Regions from separate parts of the Homo sapiens genome. Here regions 2 and 3 are each linked to region 1. Evidence: promoter capture Hi-C in human tissues and cell types (Jung and others, 2019). All regions are on one chromosome and are shown on one strand. Each heading gives the region's core, a stretch centred on a gene start or on the middle of the fragment in contact. The rest is flanking DNA. Distances are from core to core; before and after follow the strand shown.

Region 1 (3,569 bases), core at 483-2,982:
AAAGGAATGGATGCGGTCGCTGCCGCCCGGCCGGGCGGCCGGGAGGGTCGGCTCAGACCTAGGGAATCCGGCCTCCCCCGAGCTCCGCGCGCTCTGGCCGCGGCGACCGCTGCACTGACCCTCCCAACCGCGGCAGGGGGAACTGGCCCGCAAGGCCCTGGTGATCCGGCTGACCTGAAGGCTGGGAAAGAGGAGGCCCTGTCCTGAACACCTCAGAGAGCGGGGCCGTGGAGTTAGAACCCGAGCTCTGCAGTTCCTTGTAAAATAAAGTGCTGGTCCCACAGCTCTCTCGGAGGTCGGGCAACGTTTTCTCCCTCCTCCTCGAAAAACGCACTGGAATGAGTCCCTTTCATAATCTGAGGCTTGGAGGAAAAAATCCTTTGAACAACCTGCCATCTGAAAGTTGCACAGCCTTCAATTGGTGCTTTGTTGGTTTTTAAGTGGCCTTGAGCAACCACAGCCTCGGACCCCGGGCCAAAGCGGGGCATGAATTACCTTGTCAGTTGCAGCAAGAGATCCCCAGAGTCCGGAAAAGGAGAGCCGGCGACTGCGCGGGACTACACACCAATGGGGCGCCCCCCTCCTCCTGTCCCCTCAGTCTCTCCAGGGCCGCTGCCAGGGAGCTTGGCGATCGCGCCACACTCTCCGGAGCCCCACCCTTGGGAGCAGCAACCACCCAGAGGTCAAGCACGTTCCCCGCCGGGCGGCTGGCTGGGAAGCGCTCCGCTGGCCGCCGACCACACAGCCACCCTCTGCCCACCCTCTCCTGTGGACACCGCCGGAGCCCCGCCTTCCCCGGGCCCGGGTGTCTGTGACAGACTCTCCTAAGAGGCCACGTCCCCTCTTGCAAATCACTGGCCCAGCGCCCTGCACCGCGCGATGCACGGAGGGCGACTCTGTCACCCCGGCGGGGAGGAAGATTAGGGGAGCAGGGAGGCAGCACAGAGCTGGTCAGATAAGTTTGGATCGTTCACAACTAGTACGGATCCCAAGGACCTCCACGCCCGAGCTCTCCACGCCTCCGGCATTCTCTCTCGCACCGCGGGGAGCTAAACTGAGGCCCCGAGGAAAGGGCACGCAAAAGTTACTCCCATCTTCGACTCTGGGACTTGGGAAGCAGCTCGGGACGCCGATCCCAGGCGGAAGAACCACAGAAAGAGCCATCCTCCTCCCGGCCCCCGCCCCATTCCCTCGGGGGCTGTAGTCACATTACCAGCCCGAGGCTTCAATAATGCATGGGCTTACCTGCTGCCCGCGGGCCTCCTCGCCTGCCGGTCGCCACCGCCGCACCCCGAGCTGGCCAAGGGCTCCTCTAGGAGTTTGACACGGAGTAACCGCGGGGGTGTGTGCGAGTGTTAGTTTGGTGGTGCGATGTATTTAAAAAAAAAAATAAAGCTTGGAGAAGCAGACACGAACCGAAATTTTAAAAAAAGAAAGAAAGAAAGAGAAATTGACACCCGACTGAAAACGCCCCTTACTTGTGCAATCTTCCTGCCTGGTAGTTCCGCCAAAAACAAAACAGTCAAAGCGCAAACCTGGAAGGGGCGCGCAGGCACCAACTTTGCCAAACGCTACAGAGTTTTCCGTTTGCAGAAATGACCCAAAAGAAGGGGGGCGCCGCTCCCCGTGATTCCCCAATCGGCTTCTGGAGCCAGAGGCTCCTCCTCGCCCCTCGGCGGGAGAAAGCCCGCGGCCGGCTGCTGCTGCCCGCTTCCCTGCTCCGAGGAAAAACGACTCCACAACTTTGTGCGCGAGAGAGGCTCGCTCCTTCGGCGGCTCCTCCTCCTCCTCCCCGCTGCGGGCCTGCCCCTTTGTTGGAGCCGAGCGCTGGAGGCGGAGGAGGGAGGGTGGGGCGCAGGACCGCTGGGTCGCGCGTTGCCGCCCCCACCCCCCGGGAAGGGGCTCGCCTCCGGGCAGCCAGGGGTCCGCTCTCCAGATGAGAAGGGTGCAGATCAGCGCCAGCCCTCCGGCCCGCGCCTCTGCAGCGCTCCGGCTCCCCCTCGGCGCTCTCGCCCCGCCGCCGCCGGCCCAGCAACTTTGTTCCGGAAGATCAGCCCCACTACGTTCCCGGGTCAGCGTCTGCCGGGCCTCGGCGGTCACCGCGGCCACCGCGTCGGGAACTTGGCGCCCCAAGTCACCTGACTGCGCGCCCCGTCAATCAGCGCCGGCCCTGCGCGCCCTCCCAGCCCGCAGCAGCCCGGCTCGGCGCTTGGCTGGCCTGGGGCGCGCGCTCCAGAGTGAACCGTGCGTGCCGGGAGCCGGGAGTCCGGAGACCGAACCAGAATGGATGCCTCGAGCAGACACAATTCCCCTTATTCAGATTATCCGAAAATGTGAGTCACGTCCCCTTAGGCAAAACAGGTCTCTAGTTAGGGTGATATTTTTTTAAGAGATAAATTCCAATCTGCCTTCCAACTCACCCCATCTCAGTTTGCTGACGTTGCTGATTTTTTTTTTACCCCTAGTTCCAACCGTATATTTATTTTACATTATTTCTCTAGTGTCGTTGTTAATATTGAAAAAGAAGTTTTCTCTTACATTAGTTTGTATTACAAGTAGTGTTTGCGCTGACCTTATTTTTCTGTTTTCCAATATGCACACACAAACGCACATCTGTTATAGAGCCTGTTCCAAGCTTGAGAGGTTGACCAAAAAATATCTGGGAAGAAATGAGCTCGTGATGTGTGTGCATTTTTCTTATTTACACATTTCATTGCTCGTGTGTTCCTGTGATTCTTTTACACGATCAGCACACGTGGGAGGGGAAAGAAAACAGCAACCTGAGTTCCTAGTTCGTATTAACAGAGAAAAGGATGGTTGATACTGGAGCGCCGGTTTATTGCTGGCTTAATATTTGAGTTAATTTACGCGGCAGTAAAGATTAAACCACTAGGGGCCTTAAACTAATTTTCAGAAAGAGTTTACTCGCCTTTTGTTATAGTGAAAGTTTCCCCCATCCATCCCTAAGTGCTCCAGGGAGGGGGCAGGTAGGAGATTCCCAAAAGAGACTCTTCCTTGTAAGGTTTCTAGGACAGTTTCCTTCCTTTTGATGATTTTCTACGTATAAGCCAAATAAAATCCAAAGGATTAACTTGAAATGGGTATGATTTTATTCATTCACTTCATTCATTCATTTAACAAGCATCAGTTTAGGGCTGTCAGGTTTGCTGGTTCTGTGGGTAAAGCAAAGATAAATCTGATAGTGATCTTACCCTTAAAGAACTTGGAATGTAGTAGGTGAGATAAGACATGTAAACAAGTAAGTATATACAAGATCCGGGAGATAAATGCCATAAGAAAAGAACAGATCAAGTGCTAGCTGAGTATGGTCACATAGAGGGACTCCAGGATTTTTTCTTTCTTTCTTTCTTTCTTTTTTTTTTTTTTTTGACAGTGTCTCTCTCAGTTGCCCAGGCTGCAGTGCAGTGGCGCGATCTCGCTCACTGCAAGCTCCGCCTCCTGGGTTCACGCCATTCTCCTGCCTCAGCCTCCCTAGTAGCTGGGACTACAGGCGCCCACCACCACGCCCTGCTAATTTTTTGTATTTTTAGTAGAGACGGGGCCTCCCA
Region 2 (3,569 bases), core at 442-2,941, 53 kb after region 1:
CTGACTCTCCTTCATCCTCTTTGTATGAACTCCTAAGATCTGTGTGCTCCTTCAAATTAAATTGGAATTGTTAGTTTAGTTAATAGAGCTCACAACATGCCACTTGGCTGGGGCCAGACATCTTATGATCCAAGTTAAGTCTAGGGCCTCTGTGTTGCACAACTCCAGGGGGCTCTATTCATATTATACTCTGTGTAAATGGCGCCCCTGGATTTATGCAGTGTACACACTACACCATGTAATGGGGCAAAGTCTTGTTCAGTCACCACCCATCAAGTTTACACCAAGCAAATTTGCCAAATGACCAACTTATCAGGTTTATCAATTTTACTTACATATTTATTAGCCCTATCAGGAATATTTTCATAGTTCTATCAGCTTTAGATTTTAAGTTTAAGACCATCTAAAAGTAAATCAGAATTTAGCTAAAATGATCTTCTATATTAAGAAGAAAATATGGACTAAAGGATTCCCATAGGAGATGCTGAAATTTTGAAAAGTTGAACATCTTGTGAAAGCCCATAGTGAATTTAACATTCTTATTAAATTCACTATTAGCAAATTTTGTAAATTCATGTAAATCTGATATGTCAGATTATTCTATAAGTTAGCTTTCAGAAAACTGGCTTTCAGTGAGTGGGAATTCTTGAAATTGTTTTCTCAGCTTCTTCTTGTGAGAAAGAAGGATTTTTTTTAATTATCTAAAACAATTGCTTATGTGAGAATGAGTTATACCCTAGTATTTTCCACCAAGATTTCCTTGTATAGAATGCAATTTGGAGATTTCATTTTGAAAACATTTAAAATAGAAAGGGCAGGAATAAAGTGGATTAAAATATGAACCACTTGTGAGAACCAAGGCTTTTTCCCCAGGGCCTGGGAGGTGCTCCCCGGCAATGAAACAATAAACTTTTGCAGCAGAAAAAAAATTTAGCAAAACTTGGCAACTATGGTGGAGTAAGAGGTTGTACTCAACATTAAGGTCCCAATGCGATACATTTCCTAAGCATAAACAGTGATTGCCTTTATCCTTACAAAGTCAATTCAAGGTACTTATGTGGGGCATTTTTTGTTCATCTACCTGAGGAAAAAAAAAAATTAGAAAGCTCTTTCTACCTCATACTAGAATAGGAAATAATTTTTAGCAATCTTCCTTTTCTTTTTCCCCCCTTTTTTCAAGGAAAGAGGATTCAAATTTGTGGCTATGATTGTATTTTAAGCTACCTAAGAAAATTGCTCGTGAGAAAACAGTTGCCTTCTAAAAATAAACCAAAGCAACCTAATACAAACATCTCTAGCCCTGGCTTTGAAAGTTCTGTCTGAATTCCAAGCCTCTAGTTTTCAGTTTGTTTCTGAGTTTGTTGATGAACTAGCCAAGCCTAAGGATTGACATTGCAGGACTCCATAAAAATCCTTACAAATATACAGGTATGGTTGGTTGCTTTTGAAAAATAAAATTTCCCAGCTCATTCCACAATCTCAATGATCTCATACTGCTAGAGGATCTGGAAATACAGAGCCAAAGTTAAGGGTTCCAGCAGTCGGTTTCCAAAGCGTCATTGGAGTGGGCTAAAGGTGCACATTAGTTAGGCTTTTACACCTCCTGTTCCTTTTCAAGAGCGTGATTAATTACAGTGATTTATCTGTGAAAAGTGCAGCTTGGAGTTGGATGTGGGGAAGCCACAAAATGGTGTCAATGCTTCAGCCTGGAGTAAATGGTGAAATATATTTAGCAAGCAATAATGCCAGGCACTGAGAAACAGAAATAAATAGAAGAAACTGTCTTTACATGAATAGAGAACTTTACACAATACCATGTATTCACAAAAAGGAAATAATTATAGAAAATACAAACAGAGGGAAAAAAAAACAGAAAGTCTTCCAAGTTCCAAATTTCCATTCTGATTCTAGCTCCAAAACGGCAGGTCAGTTTCTCAGGAACTTTATTCCTTCCCATTTTCCAGCCTCTCTTCATGTGTCAGTGACAAATTCTAGATAAAATGAAAAAGTGGCTTAGATGATAATACCTTCCCGGGTCAAGGCCAATGTGAAGATTCAAGCCAGGGTTAAGATTGGAGTTAGTGATTCCCTTCCTTTTCCCAGATGCGCCTAAAGAAGGACTTTGGCAGGACTGTGGAGCCTGACATAAAGAAGGTTTTCCCTTCCAAAAAATGCTGCTTTCCTAGTTTTGCTTTTCTCTAACATAGATTGGGCTTGCACACAAGTATTAATTTACTTCAAAGGACTTGGAAAGTCTAATCAAACAACTGACTTTACAACTGACTTTGCCAAGGAATGCAAACAAAAGCCAGCCAAATTAGTTTGTGTGCAGAGATATATCCAAGGATATATCTAATATCACTTAAATGTGAGCTTTCTTGGCCTGGCAAGGTGGCTTACGCCTGTAATCCCAGCATTTTGGGAGGCAGAGGTGGGCAGATCACTTGAGATTAGGAGTTCAAGACCAGCCTGGTCAACATGGTGAAACCCTGTCTCTACTAAAAATACAAAAATTAGCCGGGCATGGTGGCACATGCCTGTAATACCAACTACTTGGGAGGCTGAGGCACGAGAATCGCCTGAACCTGGGAGGTGGAGATTGCAGTAAGCTGAGATCACGATGCCACTGCACTCCAGCCTGAGCGACAGAGTGAGACTCCATCTCAAAAATAAATGCACTTTCTGTAGTACTCTCAGAGACCCTCTTCTCACCATCCTCTCTTCTTGCATAATTGTATTCAGGCCTTTGCTTCCTTTGCCACCTATATATTGATGACTCCCATCTTATTACTCTCTCGAGTTTTAATCTCATACATTTGAGGATCTTTGGAGAAGCAGAGAATGAGGGATCCAGAGCCTTCAGTTTTAGAAACTCTTTTGCTCCTTCAATGTTCTAAAGAAACTTAAAAATAAATATACATACAAGCTGTTGTCTGCTCTGCTTGGCACCATAATGTTCATATTATTGGCTGTATTTTCAATTAGATACATTTTCTTCTAAGCTGATTGATATGGTTTGGGTCTGTGTCCCCACCCAAATCTCATGTCTAGTTGTAATCCCCAATGTTGGTGGTTGGGCCTCGTGGGAGGTGATTGGATCATGGGGGCGGGCGTCCGTTTTGGTGCTGTTCTCATGATAATAAGTGTGTTGTCACATGATCTGGTTGTTTAAAAGTGTGTAGCACCTCCCCACTCTCTCTTCTCTCCTGCTCCAGCCATGTCAGATGTGCCTGCTTCCCTTGGCTTTCCACTACGATTGAAAGTTTCCCGAGGCCTCCCCTGCCATGCTTCCTATACAGCCTGTGGAACCATAAGCCAACGAAACCTCTTCTCTTTATAAATTACCCAGTCTCGGGTAGTTCTTCATAGCAGTGCAAAAACAGACTAATAATTGATATTCAGATAGACAGGTTGGGAATCTGACAATTTCCTTAAACTGCAGGCCAGCATTTCAGAGCAGAATTGACAGGATGTGTAATAAAAAGAAAACGCTAAAGCACTGGTATGCAGTGGATGGTTAGTGACTTCTTTCTTATATTTTTAATACTAATACTAATATTTATATTGAT
Region 3 (3,569 bases), core at 673-3,172, 45 kb before region 1:
TCTCTACCACTTTGCAAGTCACTTCTCTGGGAAACATTCCTTGACCCTCTGAGGAAGAGCAAAACTCCGGGAGTTTATCCTTCCTGACCTGTGGTCCCACAGCACATAGTATGTATCATGAGCACACGTCTTACCACGCTGCTGAATCGCTGCGTTTGAAAGCCTGCAAGCAGAGATCTTGCTTGTCTGCCTCCCAGCAGCCTATCACGTAACTTGGCACCAGCAGAGAGAAATAAATGACAGTGAACGAACCAAGAGATAAATGGACAAATTAAATGGATGCAGGGGCACTAATTAACTACTCAATTGTTGGAGATTTGGAATAGCGCCAAGGTTACAGCTCCTTAACTCATTTACAGTTTAATTTCTACCCCATATGACTTTCATACAACAGACACTTTTCGGTAAATCTTTTTCCATCACGGAGAAGTGATGGAATAACTTTCATAGCGTATCATTAGACACTGGACCCAATCCATTCATATTCAACAAACACGCATTAAGTGCCAAGTTCTGTGCCAGGCTCTGAGGCTGACAGTGGTCCTATCCTAGATGATTTACAAGGTTAGTAAGCAAAATAAATCATATTTAGAAAATGTTTTTAATGACTGACCTTGTTAGATTCTTTACATGTAACTATCTTATTTCATGACATTATTTAGAAAAAACGTCTTTTAAAAACTTCCTAGGTCACCCAGAGGACAAAATAATTTAGAATCTGTTAACTCAGTAATTTTCACACTAATTATTGGCGGAGAGTCATGCCTCGGCTTCCTTTCAATGAACAGGTGGACAAAATTTAAGTAGCCACATTCTCAATGAGTCTTTACCTGCCTGTGACTGTCTGCCGTCTCCGTTTGTGGATTCAGATCTCACTTCCATTTCTCGTCGGCTCAGCGTGTCCTCCAAATGTAGTTAAGACTCCCAAACCAACAGTGCATGATTTCTGAAGTCACAAAGGGATGTGTACCCCTCGGCTGGAGAATGTGCTTTGATGGAGTCAAATTGAAAAACAGGGCCAAACAGTATGGGAACCGTGGATAGATGAGTTCCTCCCCAACTGCCCGGACCAGAATGGTCACATTCCTGCCTCTGTGAATAGCCCAATCCTGGTCTGCTCTGTCTGAGCCTCTGCCAGGTGTGGAGCCTGTCGCCTTAAAATCTGAAGACGTGTGACAACACTTATCTGCCTAGGAACAGCAAGGTATGCATTTCTACAAACACCACTGTTGAAACTGCTTGGTATACAGAGAAGCCAAGCACTTCCTCTCTTCTCAGGTTTTCCTTAGATTCAAGCCAAATAGAAATCTGAGTGAGGAAAAATGTTAAGGAATTTAGCTTTAGAAAAATTTGTTTTTATGTTTCTAACTCTTGCAAGAGAGCTTGTTCTCATCAATTTTATAACCTATTTTTCAACCTACATACTCCAGACTAATTCCTAATGCTTTTAGGGATCCATCCATTAATGCACTAAATAATACATGCCCTCAAACTAAGAGGTAAACCATGCCCCTTCAATCAGGATAAGAAATACTACTGAGTGAAATGCAGACTGCATCTTTCTGCCAATTTTAATCCACAGCCCTCTGCTCACTTCACTCCCAATCACCGGCCTCAATCAGGCTTTCTGTGGGCCAAGTTCTGCCAGCTTAGAGCCTGCACACAGCTCTGCCTTCAGCCAGTGCCCTCCACCACCTTGAACTATGGACTTGAATAGATTCCTCAAGAAGGCCTTCCCTGACCACTCAAACTATCACTCATTCCAGGTCCCTATGAAGTCCCCGAGTGATTTGCCATGACAGCACTGCAGAATGTCTACCCTCTAAGCAGTTAAACAACTATTTGTATGCTCTGCAATTTGATGTCTGGTTCTCGTACTAGTCTACACACTCAAGAGGCCAGATGCCATCATAGAGCTCATCAGTTTTGTCAACTACACCCAGTGCAGTGCCTGCCATATGGGGCATTCACCCAAGACTACTTTCCATTTAAAATTGTTGTCTCTTTTGAAACACTCTGTGGCACACTGCTGCCACTGCTGAGGTTTAAGGAAACAAATACTCATTTTAAGCCATCATCTTTATCAGGGGTTATTACCAGGCAGGGGGTCCATGAACTTGGACAGGAAAAGCAATTAGATCTTTTCACTGACCTCTAACAGAAATTTGCATTTCCTTCCATTGTGATGGCAGATCACAAAACACATTATTAGTGGTAGCTTTGACTGTGTCACCAGCAAAAATCATAACCATTTTCACATCACCTTACAACTCTAGCAGGTATCTTGAAAATACCATTTGGCTCGTTGTTATTTCAGAAGAGTAGAGAGGTTAGAGATGCTAGAAGTTCTTACTGAACACACTAATGAAACAGCAAATACTACTCTCTCACAGACTTTTTCAGTATTTTGGTAACTGTATGCATGGAATACCATGTACTCTATTTTATGCATTTAAAAATATTTGTCAGGCTGGGTGCGGTGCCTCATATCTGTAATCCCAGCACTTTGGGAGGCCGAGGCAGGCGGATCACAAGGTCAAGAGATCGAGACCATCCTGGCCAACATGGTGAAATCTTGTCTTTACTAAAAATACAAAAATTAGCTGGGCATGATGGCGTGCGCCTGTAGTCCCAGCTACTCGGGAGTCTGAGGCAGGAGAATCGCTTGAACCCGAGAGGTAGAAGTTGCAGTGAGCCGAGATCGCCCCCCTACACTCCAGCCTGGGTGACAGAGTGAGACTCCATCTCAAAAAAAAAAAAAAAAGGCCAGGTGCGGTGGCTCACACCTGTAATCCTAGCACTTTTGCAGGCCGAGGCAGGGGGATTACCTGAGGTCAGGACTTCAAGATCAGGCTGGCCAACATGGTGTAACTCCGTCTCTACCAAAAATACAAAAAATTAGCTGGGTACAGTGGCTTGCAACTGTAATCCCAGCTACTTGGGAGACTGAGGCAGGAAAATCGCTTGAACCTGGGAGGCAGAGGTTGCAGGGAGCCAAGATCGCACCACTGCACTCCAGGCTGGGCAACAGAGTGAGACTTTGTCTCAAAAAAAAATTTGTCTGGCTTCACTAAACTGCCAAAGGAGTCTATGGGGGCAATGAAGGGGGGATGAAGATAAAGAATAAAAACCCTGATCTATTAACAGATCACTATCATGAGATATAAACATCTGATGCACCAAGAAACAATTATATTTTGTTCTGAATGAATGTATTTTTACTCATTGTAAAAGGAAATAATATTTCCTTAAAAAGACTTTGCAAAATAAACAAAATTAATAAATTAAGATACTATTTTTAAAACAAATAAAGATATTTATTTCCTTGGTTTTAATACAAAACAACTCTAAAAGAAGAAATTCCCAAGAGACATTAACAAGTTTAAGAGTTACTTAACAGCTCAACTATTAGACACCCCTGACACTCCTAAGAATATTCTTGATTTGATGAAACTTCTGGTAACACCTGGAAGCTTAAAGTCATTTTCCTTTGTTTCATCACCTCTCTAAAAAGTTATCGTTCCTTTGTTAAGATGCTAGATAAGCCCAGTTCTAACCAACCCTTTGAA

What was found. Contacts are between HindIII fragments. The study calls those that stand out against the background at their distance.
Region 2: a contact is called between a fragment that was not itself captured here and the fragment with the promoter of UTRN in region 1, in 1 of the 25 tissues and cell types used here (spleen).
Region 3: a contact is called between a fragment that was not itself captured here and the fragment with the promoter of UTRN in region 1, in 3 of the 25 tissues and cell types used here (bladder, pancreas and spleen).

Annotation. Positions count from the first base shown.
Region 1 is chr6:144,283,498-144,287,066 of GRCh38, reverse strand. It overlaps UTRN (utrophin), which reads right to left and starts at 1,732. Exons shown (of 75, transcript NM_007124.3): 1 at 1,246-1,732. LOC124901418 reads right to left here and starts at 569. Exons shown (of 1, transcript XM_047419641.1): 1 at 1-569. The coding sequence starts at 396. RefSeq lists silencers at 1,793-1,892, 2,103-2,162 and an enhancer at 2,293-2,362. The HindIII fragment of the contact is 2,482 bases long and covers 1-2,015 here.
Region 2 is chr6:144,230,362-144,233,930 of GRCh38, reverse strand. No RefSeq gene overlaps it. Among named protein-coding and RNA genes, the nearest start is that of TRL-TAA1-1, 16 kb to the right of the region's middle. The HindIII fragment of the contact is 8,996 bases long and covers 1-3,569 here.
Region 3 is chr6:144,328,280-144,331,848 of GRCh38, reverse strand. All of the region lies in intron 2 of UTRN (utrophin), which reads right to left. Among named protein-coding and RNA genes, the nearest start is that of UTRN, 45 kb to the right of the region's middle. RefSeq lists an enhancer at 1-1,117. The HindIII fragment of the contact is 5,071 bases long and covers 1-3,569 here.